3 separate regions of the Homo sapiens genome follow, and regions 2 and 3 are each linked to region 1. The links are contacts of gene promoters, found by promoter capture Hi-C in human tissues and cell types (Jung and others, 2019). All regions are on one chromosome and are shown on one strand. Each heading gives the region's core, a stretch centred on a gene start or on the middle of the fragment in contact. The rest is flanking DNA. Distances are from core to core; before and after follow the strand shown.

Evidence for each region. The method cuts DNA at HindIII sites, captures the fragments that hold promoters and counts their contacts. A contact is called where the count stands out against the background at its distance.
Region 2: a fragment that was not itself captured here is called in contact with the fragment with the promoter of PDCD1 in region 1 in 1 of the 25 tissues and cell types used here (lymphoblastoid cells).
Region 3: a contact is called between a fragment that was not itself captured here and the fragment with the promoter of PDCD1 in region 1, in 1 of the 25 tissues and cell types used here (lymphoblastoid cells).

What each region holds. Positions count from the first base shown.
Region 1 is chr2:241,857,262-241,860,967 of GRCh38, forward strand. It overlaps PDCD1 (programmed cell death 1), which reads right to left and starts at 1,633. Exons shown (of 5, transcript NM_005018.3): 1 at 1,502-1,633. The coding sequence starts at 1,577. It overlaps LOC124908032 (a long non-coding RNA gene), which reads left to right and starts at 1,811. Exons shown (of 2, transcript XR_007088436.1): 1 at 1,811-2,816. RefSeq lists an enhancer at 839-1,801. The HindIII fragment of the contact is 28,999 bases long and covers 1-3,706 here.
Region 2 is chr2:241,323,446-241,326,839 of GRCh38, forward strand. SEPTIN2 (septin 2) reads left to right here. Exons shown (of 13, transcript NM_004404.5): 2 at 771-796; 3 at 2,548-2,668. The coding sequence starts at 788. Among named protein-coding and RNA genes, the nearest start is that of SEPTIN2, 9.2 kb to the left of the region's middle. The HindIII fragment of the contact is 3,359 bases long and covers 1-3,164 here.
Region 3 is chr2:241,307,300-241,310,829 of GRCh38, forward strand. The region is part of intron 1 of HDLBP (high density lipoprotein binding protein); the gene reads right to left. Among named protein-coding and RNA genes, the nearest start is that of HDLBP, 6.6 kb to the right of the region's middle. RefSeq lists an enhancer at 2,105-2,606. The HindIII fragment of the contact is 9,441 bases long and covers 1-3,530 here.

The DNA of each region.
Region 1 (3,706 bases), core at 383-2,882:
CCACTGCGCCTTGCTGAGTGCCCTGTGCTGTTACCAGTGGGGAAACCGAGGCATGCCACCTGTGAGAGTCTTGTCCGGCACAAGCGCGGGCACCTGAGGCACGAGTGTCAGGCTGCGGACACCTTGCTCTTATCTTTCCCGCCTGGGTCGGGGAGGGTGGCGTCCCGAGGGCGTGCCTGAAGAGCCGGGACACGGGGGGAGAGGCTCGGCTCCCCTCCTGCCTCGCTCAGCTCCCCCTCCCCTGTGACGAGCGCCCCTCTGCCCTCTGGTTCCCCCGCAGTCGTCTCCCTGGGATGCCTTTTGGCCCTTTGCTCTTTGCCTTTTGCCCAGAATCTCCAGTTCTGAGTCCTGAGTGACCCACGGGCCAACCTTAAGAGGTGGCGCTGAGGCAGGAAGGCACGGCCCTGACAAGGATGCTGCCTCAGGTGCCGGGGAGCAGGCCCCGGGAGAGGGGCCGAGGTGGGGAACCCCCAGTCGCCTGCCACAGTGAAGGGGCACCAGGACCCCCGGGGCAGGAGCCTCGAGGGGGTGTCAGGGCGGCCCCAGGGGTGCCCCTCATCTTGTCCTCCCAGTGGTGTCACACCCCGGTACCCAGCAGGGCCCAGAGGGACTGTCTTAGGCTTGGCCTGGGTGAAACCACCCTCCCCAGGCCTTGGCATCCCCAGGTGCAGGCTGGCTGGGCACAGAGGGCCAGCCGGGCACAGAGGGTCCAGGAGCGGGCTGTGGTCACAGTGTACACAGAGGGCCCAGGGTCACGGGCAGCCCAGGAAGAGGCTCCCTCTCTCCTCGATCCGGGAGAGTGAGGCCAAGGCCTCCCCCACGGATGGTCTGAACAGGGCTCGGGGAGAGCCCTGGAATCTGGGCAGAGACCCAGGCGGGCACAATCCCCACCCAGGAGGGATCCTGGAGACAGAAGAACTGTCCTCACTCGAACAGGTACACTTTGGATATAATGAGAAAAATATCACCAGCTCATCTAAACTTTGACGTCGTAAAGCCAAGGTTAGTCCCACATGGGGCTCATCCCATCCTTAGGAAAACTCGAGTGAGGACCAAGGATGCCTGGGCAAGGCAGAGCCGCCACGCAGACTCCCCACGGCCAAGGTTTGGGGTTCTGGCCAGCCTGACCCGTCATTCTACAGAAACACGCAGCCCCAAGGACCGGCTGAGAGGGGACAGAGGTCCTGCCTGCCCAGGAGCAAAGAGGGGACTTGGGCCAGGGGAGGAGTTGGGGCCCAGAGAGGAACCCAGGAGTTCGAGCTGCCCAAAGCCACACAGCTCAGGGTAAGGGGCAGAGCTGGGGGCCAAGGCTGGGCCTGCCACAGCACCCCCCGACCTGCCAGGGACTGAGAGTGAAAGGTCCCTCCAGACCCCTCGCTCCGGGACCCCTGGGCTGCCAGGGCCAGGCCCGCCTCAGCACCCCCCGACCTGCCAGGGACTGAGGGTGGAAGGTCCCTCCAGACCCCTGGCTCTGGGACACCTGACCGCCGACCCCACCTACCTAAGAACCATCCTGGCCGCCAGCCCAGTTGTAGCACCGCCCAGACGACTGGCCAGGGCGCCTGTGGGATCTGCATGCCTGGAGCAGCCCCACCAGAGTGCCGCCTTCTCCACTGCTCAGGCGGAGGTGAGCGGAAGGGAAACTGTCCCAGGTCAGGTTGAAGGGAGGGTGCCCGCCCCTTGCTCCCGCCCCCTCTTCCTCCACATCCACGTGGGCGAGAGTGACAGAGGCAGTGCTGGGGGAGGAGGGGTGAGGAGGGGGTAGGACTGGGGAGAGGGTGGGGGAGGGAGAGAGAGACAGAGACAGGGAGACAGAGGAGATGGGGAGGAGGTGGGCCCGTGGCCCCCACGCCCTACCCCGTGGGGGTCTCCCCAGCTCAGGGCCCCTTCCTCCTCTGTGTCTCTGCTCACTGCTGTGGCCTCTTTCCATATCCCGCCCGAGCTGCCCCTCCTGAGGCTGCCGGGTGGGGGCAGGCCCTTCTCCTCCCCCATCCCCCCCATCTCCCTGGGGGCCGGGCCTCCCTGCCTGGGGAAGGTGGGTGGCCCCCTCTGGGCTCAGGTTCCTGGGCTGCAGTGAGGGGTGGGCTCAACCCCACTCCCATTCTGTCGGAGCCTCTGGGAGCCTCCCGGCTGCCCACAGCCTCTGCCCCTGCTGGGGGCAGGTGCCTGGCCTCTGCCTTCCCGGCCCATCCCCCTTCGCTGGGGCACAGGTGACCCTACTGAATGACAACTGTCCATGGCTAATCGGCTCCCCCTCAAAGCTTCCACCTTGTGGATGGCCTCACACCATGGCCACAGTTCCAGATCTTTCCACCGTGTGATGCCTGCAACAGCCTGACGGGGGGGCTGGGGCGGTGGCAGGGGCTGGCTGTGAGGCTGACCTCCCCTTCCAGCCTTGACCTTCTTCCCCGGGGCCCTGCCCTCCAGCCCACTCGTGCCAGGGTGGGGTGGTTCAGGGGGTCCAGTGCCTGGGCCTGGCTGGCGGCCCGGCGTTTGTGAAATGGCTTGCTTATCTCCTTGTATTCTGTGCTGAGCATTTTATTACAGCGAATGGAAAACAGGAGAAATGAAACTGCTGATATTAGTGATGAGATGCGTCAGGCTCATCAGCTTAAAATAACCGAAGCGAGGCTAGAAACCGCCTGACAGCTGGCGCGGCTGCCTGGCTCCGAGAGACACTCGGCCCGGCTCTGAAGGGAAAACATTAAAGCACCGAAACAGTGGAAAAAGAGCATCAAAGATGATGTCTGCGAGGCGCGGCCACGGCGAGGAAGCTCTCGTTTATGAACAAAGGGCCACTCCCGGGTCTCAGAGATGTGAGGCTGTGTGGGTGGCTTGGTGGGGAGGTGGGGGGGGCCCAGCTGGCCAGGTGGGCTTGGCGGGGGGCCCCCAGGGAGCCTGGCAGCACCCACTGTGCTGCCAGACAGCTAAGGTGGCCCGCAGCAACTGTCTCCTGGCACACCCACCCTTGTGCCTCAGGGGCTGGGGCTCTGGGGCTGGAGAACTGTTGGTTGGTAGGTGCCTCCATAGCCCTGTGCCTCGCCCAGGCAGTGGATAAGTGGCTAAGCTGCCCCTGCTGGCTGTACTTGTCCTGAAGGCAGATTCTGGACAGAACCTCCCTCTGCCCCCAGCCCTGTAGAGCCTTGTTCCAACCTCTGTTGAATGCTGTCTCTGTTCCAGGGCAGCAGTGGGCCTTCCTCAAGGCTCTGAGCTTTGTGGGACGAAGCTGTCCTCTGAGGACTGGGAATGCCACTGTGTGGGCTGGAGGGGAGGCTGGGCCCAGGAGGTGGGCTCTGAGATGGGAGATGCTATCAGACCCCTGGAAGGTCTCCTCACCACCAAGGCCCTGCCCCCAAAATTCCACCTGCCAGGGCTTGGACACATGTCCTGGAGTAGGGGGCGGGCACAGGGAGAAACCCAGCTTCCATCCTACCCCTTCCTTCCTTCTCCTTCTCCCACCCCTCTCCTCTCTCCCTGCAGTTCTTCCCTGTCACCCACTCTCCTTCCCTCCTCCTCTCAGTCCCACTGAAGGCCCCTGGGCCATGGGAGAGGAGACCTGGTGGGGTGGGCCCAGCGTGGAGCCAGGGGACTGCGGCCACTGAGGCCAGGGCTGCCTGATGGTCTCTCCACATTGCTACTCGCTGGAGCACCTGCAAAGAGACACATGGACCCAGGGAGGGTCTGCAGGGCTGCGAGGGGTCTGAGC
Region 2 (3,394 bases), core at 235-2,734, 530 kb before region 1:
TGGGGTTTCACCATGTTGGCCAGGCTGGTCTTGAACTCCTGACCTCAAGTGGTCTGCCTACCTCGGCCTCCCAAAGTGCTGGAATTACAGGCGTGAGCATCACGTCTGGCCTAATTTTTTTAATCGAATTTATTTTTGTAATGATAGATGCTTGTCTTATTCCTAGGGAAATATTTGAAGTAATTGAGATGCTGTCACCTAAAATAATCAAAAGGCTCCTGATTCAGTTAAAAGAATTCATTTAAGTACAGAGTGTAAGCGAGCTACACCAAAGAATGGTGATTAGCGCTCCCAGGGTGGGGAAAAATGAGGATTGTTTATATAGGCAAAATGGAGGTGCCAAACAGAATTATAACATTTTCGGAACTAAGGCTCATTTAAAGATACAAATTTGATTGGCTACTATTGATTACACTTGAAGGGATTTGTTTAACTTCCTTTTGTAAAGAAGTAACAGTCATAAGGATCTCTCATCTCCCAGTCATTTAGTCTAGTTTTGAATAAAGAATAGGGGGTCTGGTTAATATATACATCTAAACACAAAAGTCAGAAAGAATAAAAGTAGTGATGTTACACGAGCCAGCTGTCAGTGCTTAACTTTTCCCTTTGGCCTAATGCATTTGGAAGGTCCTGAAATTGTATTTTCTTTTTACATTGCCTATGTATGTGTAAGTCTTCTTCAGGTCAGTTCACGCTGTTAAATATACGTGCGTATACATACATACTATGTATGTGCGTTTATGTGTGTCTGTGTGTTTTTTTTTTAACAGACGAAGCTTCACAAAAGATGTCTAAGGTAAGATCATACTTCATGTATCTACAGCATAAGGAGAAATTGCTTTATGTTTTCAGACTGTTGACAGTCGGGACTTATATGATTCATTATTTTTAATACAACTGATACATTTGATTCATTAACACAAAGAGTTCTAATTTAGTTGTCTTTTTTTTTTTTTTTTTGAGACGGGAGTCTTGTTCTGTCACCAGGCTGGAGTGCAGTGGCATGATCTCAGCTCACTGCAACTTCTGCCTCCCACGTTCAAGCGATTCCCCTGGCTCAGCCTCCGGAGTAGCTGGGACTGCAGACACGTGCCACCACGCTGGCTAATTTTTTGGATTTTAGTAAATTCGGGGTTTCACCGTGTTGGCCAGGATGGCCTTGATCTGTTGACCTCGTGATCCACCCGCTTTGGCCCCCCGAAGTGTTGGGATTACAGGTGTGAGCCACCGTGCCTGGCCTAATTGTCATCTTAAAAGCTTGGAGCTTTCTCTTTTTTCAGGCTTCTACTTTCTTTTCTCTACACACATCAGTAACAGTCCTTTTGGCCCCCTTAGTTCATTCCCAGCAGACCAGATAATTTAGAATTCTGATAATTTATTATGATGAAATTGATGGGGCTCTTAGACTTGATAAATTGGTTTAAATCAGCCTTTGCAAGTTAGTTCAGAGATAAATTAGTGCTAAAGAACATATTCTGAGAAAAGCAGAACTTGTGGTTAACATTGCAAGATTATTATTTCTGTTTTTTTTTTATCTTTGAATCCTGTGGGTGTTCATTACTGTCCAATGCAAAATCATCATACCAGTTTTTGCATTTTATACCAGTGTTAGCATGGAACACAGATAAGCAAAAAAAAAAGTCATTATTTCACCACTCAGGAATAACCACTGTTAATATGTTACATATATTCTTTTTCACCTGTGTGTGCATTTGACTATACATTTACAAAATGTAATCCTAAAGGAAATACTATTTTGTATCTTGCCTTTTTCAATTAATAAATTGATTTTTAAAATTTCTTCTCATTTTCAGTATGCCACTGTCTAGATTCTGGTTACTTCTGCTATTCTTGCCTTCTCATATCTCTGTCCTCTCTCTCATCAGATACCCTTCTGTCAAGGAATATTGATGCTTCAGTGTAGTCATCTATGATCTTCTCATTCTGTCTTTTCTTTCTTGGTCTTTGACACTAGATACTCAACATCCCACCCCTAATTTGCCTGCCTCACCCTTGATGAAACTCTGTTCTATAGAGCTAGAAGCACAGCAAGAGAGATGCTTTTTTCCTCGATACTTTTCAGAAATGCATTGCACCTAATACCTGGGAGAAGCTATTCTTTAGCCAAGTTTGTTGAATGAAACCATTCATTCAAAGTACTGTCAGCTGTAGCAGTACTTTGTAAGCTTGACTGATTTTCCTGGAACTCCATAGTCTCTCAAGTCGAAATTTGAAATTGCATTAAGATGTATTAAGCATGTATCTTCTATGTATTGTTAAATTCCTAAACAGAATACTGATTAACAAAATGTTAATTTTCAGTCGCATACAACTAAGGAGTTATACTAGATAAGTTTTTCTTTTTTTAATGCTCCTAGTTGAATACTACTGGTTTTCTGATAGAAGTATGACCTTCTGGAAGTGTTTATACTTTTTAAAAAATTTGTGAAAACTGATAACCTATGTTTGTTTCATGTCTAACTGATTATATCTTAAAAGCAACTACTAAGGTGTTTATTAGTTTGTTTGTTTTTTAATCTTATTTAGCAACAGCCAACTCAGTTTATAAATCCAGAAACACCTGGCTATGTTGGATTTGCAAACCTCCCCAATCAAGTTCACCGAAAATCAGTGAAAAAAGGTTTTGAGTTCACACTGATGGTGGTCGGTAAGAAATTAATCTATAGTCTCCAACTTACTAAATAAATATCTCCCCTTTCCAATCTCTGGAGTATGATAACGTGACCTATAAAGAAAGAGGAAAATTTGGCAGAGTCAAATAACTTGAGAATTTGAACAAATATATGTGTATTCATTAGAAAATTTTTCTCAGGAGCAAAATTATTTTTCTGTCACTTTCTTATTTATATGTAGTGAAAGTTTACTCATTGTGTCAGCTAGGCTCCAAAATGGCCCCCAGTGATTCTTATCTCCTGGTATTCACAACTTTCTTGTCCCTTCCTGCATTGAATAGGGTTTTACCTGTGTAGCCAGTAGGACATTGTGGAGATGAAAGTGTTGTCATTTTCTAAGACTAGGTCATAAAAGGCATTATGGCCCCCCACCTTGCCTCTTCTCAAATTACTCACTCTGGAGGAAGCCAGCCCTTCCTGCATTGAATAGGGTTTTACCTGTGTAGCCAGTAGGACATTGTGGAGATGAAAGTGTTGTCATTTTCTAAGACTAGGTCATAAAAGGCATTATGGCCCCCCACCTTGCCTCTTCTCAAATTACTCACTCTGGAGGAAGCCAGCTGTCATGTCAAGAGAACACTCAAGCAGCCTTACAGGGAAGCCCACCAAGTAAGGAACCAAGGCCTGCCAATGGCTGTGTAAGTGACCCGTTTCAGAAATATCCTCCAGGCCAGGCATGGCGGCTCACACCTGTAATCTTA
Region 3 (3,530 bases), core at 230-2,729, 550 kb before region 1:
ACTGCTCACGCCACTTGCTGACTGTTGACTTTGACATCAGCCACTTCTTACCTCTTCCTGCCCCAGGAGAGACCTGCGGTCATAGCACTGGGGTCTCTGGGATACAGCTAAGCCTCCTGAGAGACTGGAATGGGATGGGTAGGGGCTACACGAATAATGGTTTAATTAACATTGACAGTATTAATAGATTAATACTGCAGTGGGCTTGCTGTAGTGATGGTCTACCAAGGAACTTGATTTTTTAGCTTTAAAAATATTCTAAAAGATAACTCAACAAAACAATGTAAAAACTGGCAACCCCCCCATGAGGCTTTACCAAAAAATATATTCTAAACTGTATCTTCAAAACTGTAATTTTAATTATACTTTAATTATAATTTTAATACATGATTTAAATAAAAATAGGATCTTACATGCATTCTTTCACCATCTGCTACACTTATTTTCATTTGAAAAGACACCATGGCCATCTTTCCGAGTACCAAATACAAATTTACCTCATTTGTTAACAACTACATGTTGAGTGGAGTAAACATACCTTAATAAATCCCCTACTGATAGGACCCTTGAACTAATTTTTTTTTTTTTTTGCGATTATAAACAATGCTGGAAAGAACATCCTCTGCTCACTTGGGCCTCTACCCCCACAGGATAAATTGAATTGGAAATGGAATTATATGATGACAGGCAATGCATTGATAGATATTGCCAAGGTAAAACTGCCCACCTCCCAAAGAGTTTAACTAGTTACACTCACAACACCTGATTACAGAATACCTGTCCTCTTCTCCTTTGAGGACAACTAAAATGATCATGTTTATTCTTTTTTCCAGCCTGATGTGCGGGAAATACGATTTTAATGGCAACTCTGATCATCAGTGAGACAGCAATCTTGTTGAGCTTATTGACCTTTTGAATTTCTGTACTGTGAAGATCAAACTAATCACAACCAATCCGTCGTCCACCTTTCTACCAGTGTTTCAGCAACGCTTGTGAGACAAAGCAAAATCCACATCTGGGCAACAGAGCAGTAGGAATGAACAGAAAGAATTATAAATTTAAGTGAAACTCAAGTTGTATGCCAAAAATAACATTCCTAAAGGGCACCCAGGCAAAAGTGATGAGAAAATACTATTAAAAAGGACATCTTTTGCCTCAATTAGTCACACAGTAGACAACGTAAGCTGATGACCTGAGACACCTCAGCCTGCCAAAGTTCCGTTTCATTCACAAACATTAACCTACTCTGCTTTAAGAGAAGGGCTCCCCCAAAAGGTAATTGTGCTTGCAGAAAAGCGTCAAAGTGTATACTGTTTTGCGGGGTATGCAGACCTGGGTAGATGGTAGACTGAGGCTGACTGACAAGGCCAGGTTAGGGAAGCAGTGAAGTAGCTGAAGGCACAAACTGGAGCCAAACCACTAACTCTAGCCTTTGCCTCAGGGTCTACCTCGACCTGTGATAACAACAATACTTGCCTCCTACAGGTGACAGGAAAAGTAAGAAATGTCGTGAATGGTGTGGCCCATGGTCACTTCACCACGATCCACCACCAGTACTGGGTCACTCTGCTCCAGCTCTCCAAAGGCATCAAGATCCGACTGCTAGGAGCCCCGGCTTCTTCCCTGACCTGCCCGTCTCCTACACCCTCTGGTCCTGCTCCACACTGGTCTAATAACTGGTGTTCCACATTCCTCTAACGTGCACAACACAGTCCTGCCCCCGTGCTTTTCACCTCCTGTCCATTCCTCTTATAACGCTCTTCCCCAGATCGCTGCCCATGGCTTGTTTGCTCATCTCAAGTTTGAATCAACTGTCGCTCAATCAGCAAGGCCTCCCCACTATGCCAAACTGCCACTGTGTCCCCCACTCCACTCCCCTCGATACTTTATTTTCCTCCTTTCTTCTTGTCCACATTGGACATACTGCATATCTGCTGGTCTGCTGACTGCCTGACACCGCTTACCAAAACGTGACCTCCGTGAAAGTGCAGGAGAACACACTTGCATTTTCCTTACTGTGTCCCACTTCCTGGAACAGTGTCTCCAGCACGAGCCGTTGTCAGATCAATACATTTACACTACTTCGTGAAGCACCACTAAAATGATAGTAAACGATTTTTTCTTTTTTTAAGATACAAATCACGAAAGCAAAGAATAAGAATAGAGATAAGAACATTAAAATACTGGAGGCTAGAAACTGGAAACAGACCTAAAAGGGCTGAATCCTGTATCGGCAATGGGGAAGGCCAACTGGCAATATGACTGGAAGCCAGGAGACCTGAATTAAAAACAGAGTTGGCTGATAGGTTTAAAAGGCACGAAGATCCCTAAGATGCACCCCACAACTCTGCACAGCCACACAGAGCCAACCTGCACAGTCCCTCTCCTATCCTGGCAAAAAGGTATCGCTTTTCTGTCTGCAAAGGGAAGTAGAATCTTTGGACTGGGGACACCAGTTACAGAGGAGGGAAACAATTCTGAAAAGAGGGAAGTAAGCTCTTTTATGGTTACTGCTGTGCTCCCAGGCCTCTCTCCTCACTTGGCCACTCAGCCAGGCAAAGGGCTACAAGATATTTCTCTGGGGAATCTGAAGAAACCCAAAGAAGCTGACAAGGGTGCTGTAAGGAAATGGCCCAGCCAGGTGCCTCTGCAGTGAAAGCCACAGTCAGCCACAGACACAGGCTCAGAGGCCCTCTGACTCACGAGCAGGCACAAGAACATCACTGCATAGCCCAGAAAAGGCTGACAAAAGCCAAAAACCCACAACAAACCAGAGCAGCCTCAATAGTGACTTAAGGAAAAAGAAAACAGGGAAAAATAAAACCTCATCAATATCTTCCAACAGTTAACAGGAGATACCACATTCATGAAACAAAAAATAGGTTATAAAATAGGAATAGAGGGAACAAGAAAAAGCTCTTAGAAATGAGAAAAACCTTGGTAGAAGGGCTGGAAGACAAACTTGAGAATAACTTCCAGAAAGAAAATGAAAAACCAAAGGGTACAAAACATCAATTAGACAGGAGGAATGTGGTTTTCTTTTATGAGATATATTGTACAGCACGGTGAATATAGTAAATAATAATGTCGATTTCAAAAGTGCTGACAGTAATCTCATATGCTTTCACCACAAAAAACTTAAAGTATTTGAAGTGATGAATTATGTTAACTTGATTTTATTATTTATTGTATCCATAAATCGTAACATCACTTTGTACCCCCTAAATATGTACAAGTATAATTTGTCAATTTACAATTTAAAAGATAAAAACAAAAACAAAAATTTTAGAGGGGGGAAAAAGAAACCTTAAGAAAATTATGAGTGCCAATCCAGAAAGTCCAAGAGTAGAATTCTAGAGAGAGAGAGAGAAAGCAAATAGGAAGAAATCAAAGCAATAAATCAAAAAAATGCCCAGCGTTGAAGAACATGAGTTGCAAATAAACAGGACCAAAGAGTAGGCAAGACGATGGATGAAAACAGTCTCCAAGGGACATCACTGTTCTGGGAGTTCTGAATTTCACAGAAAGAA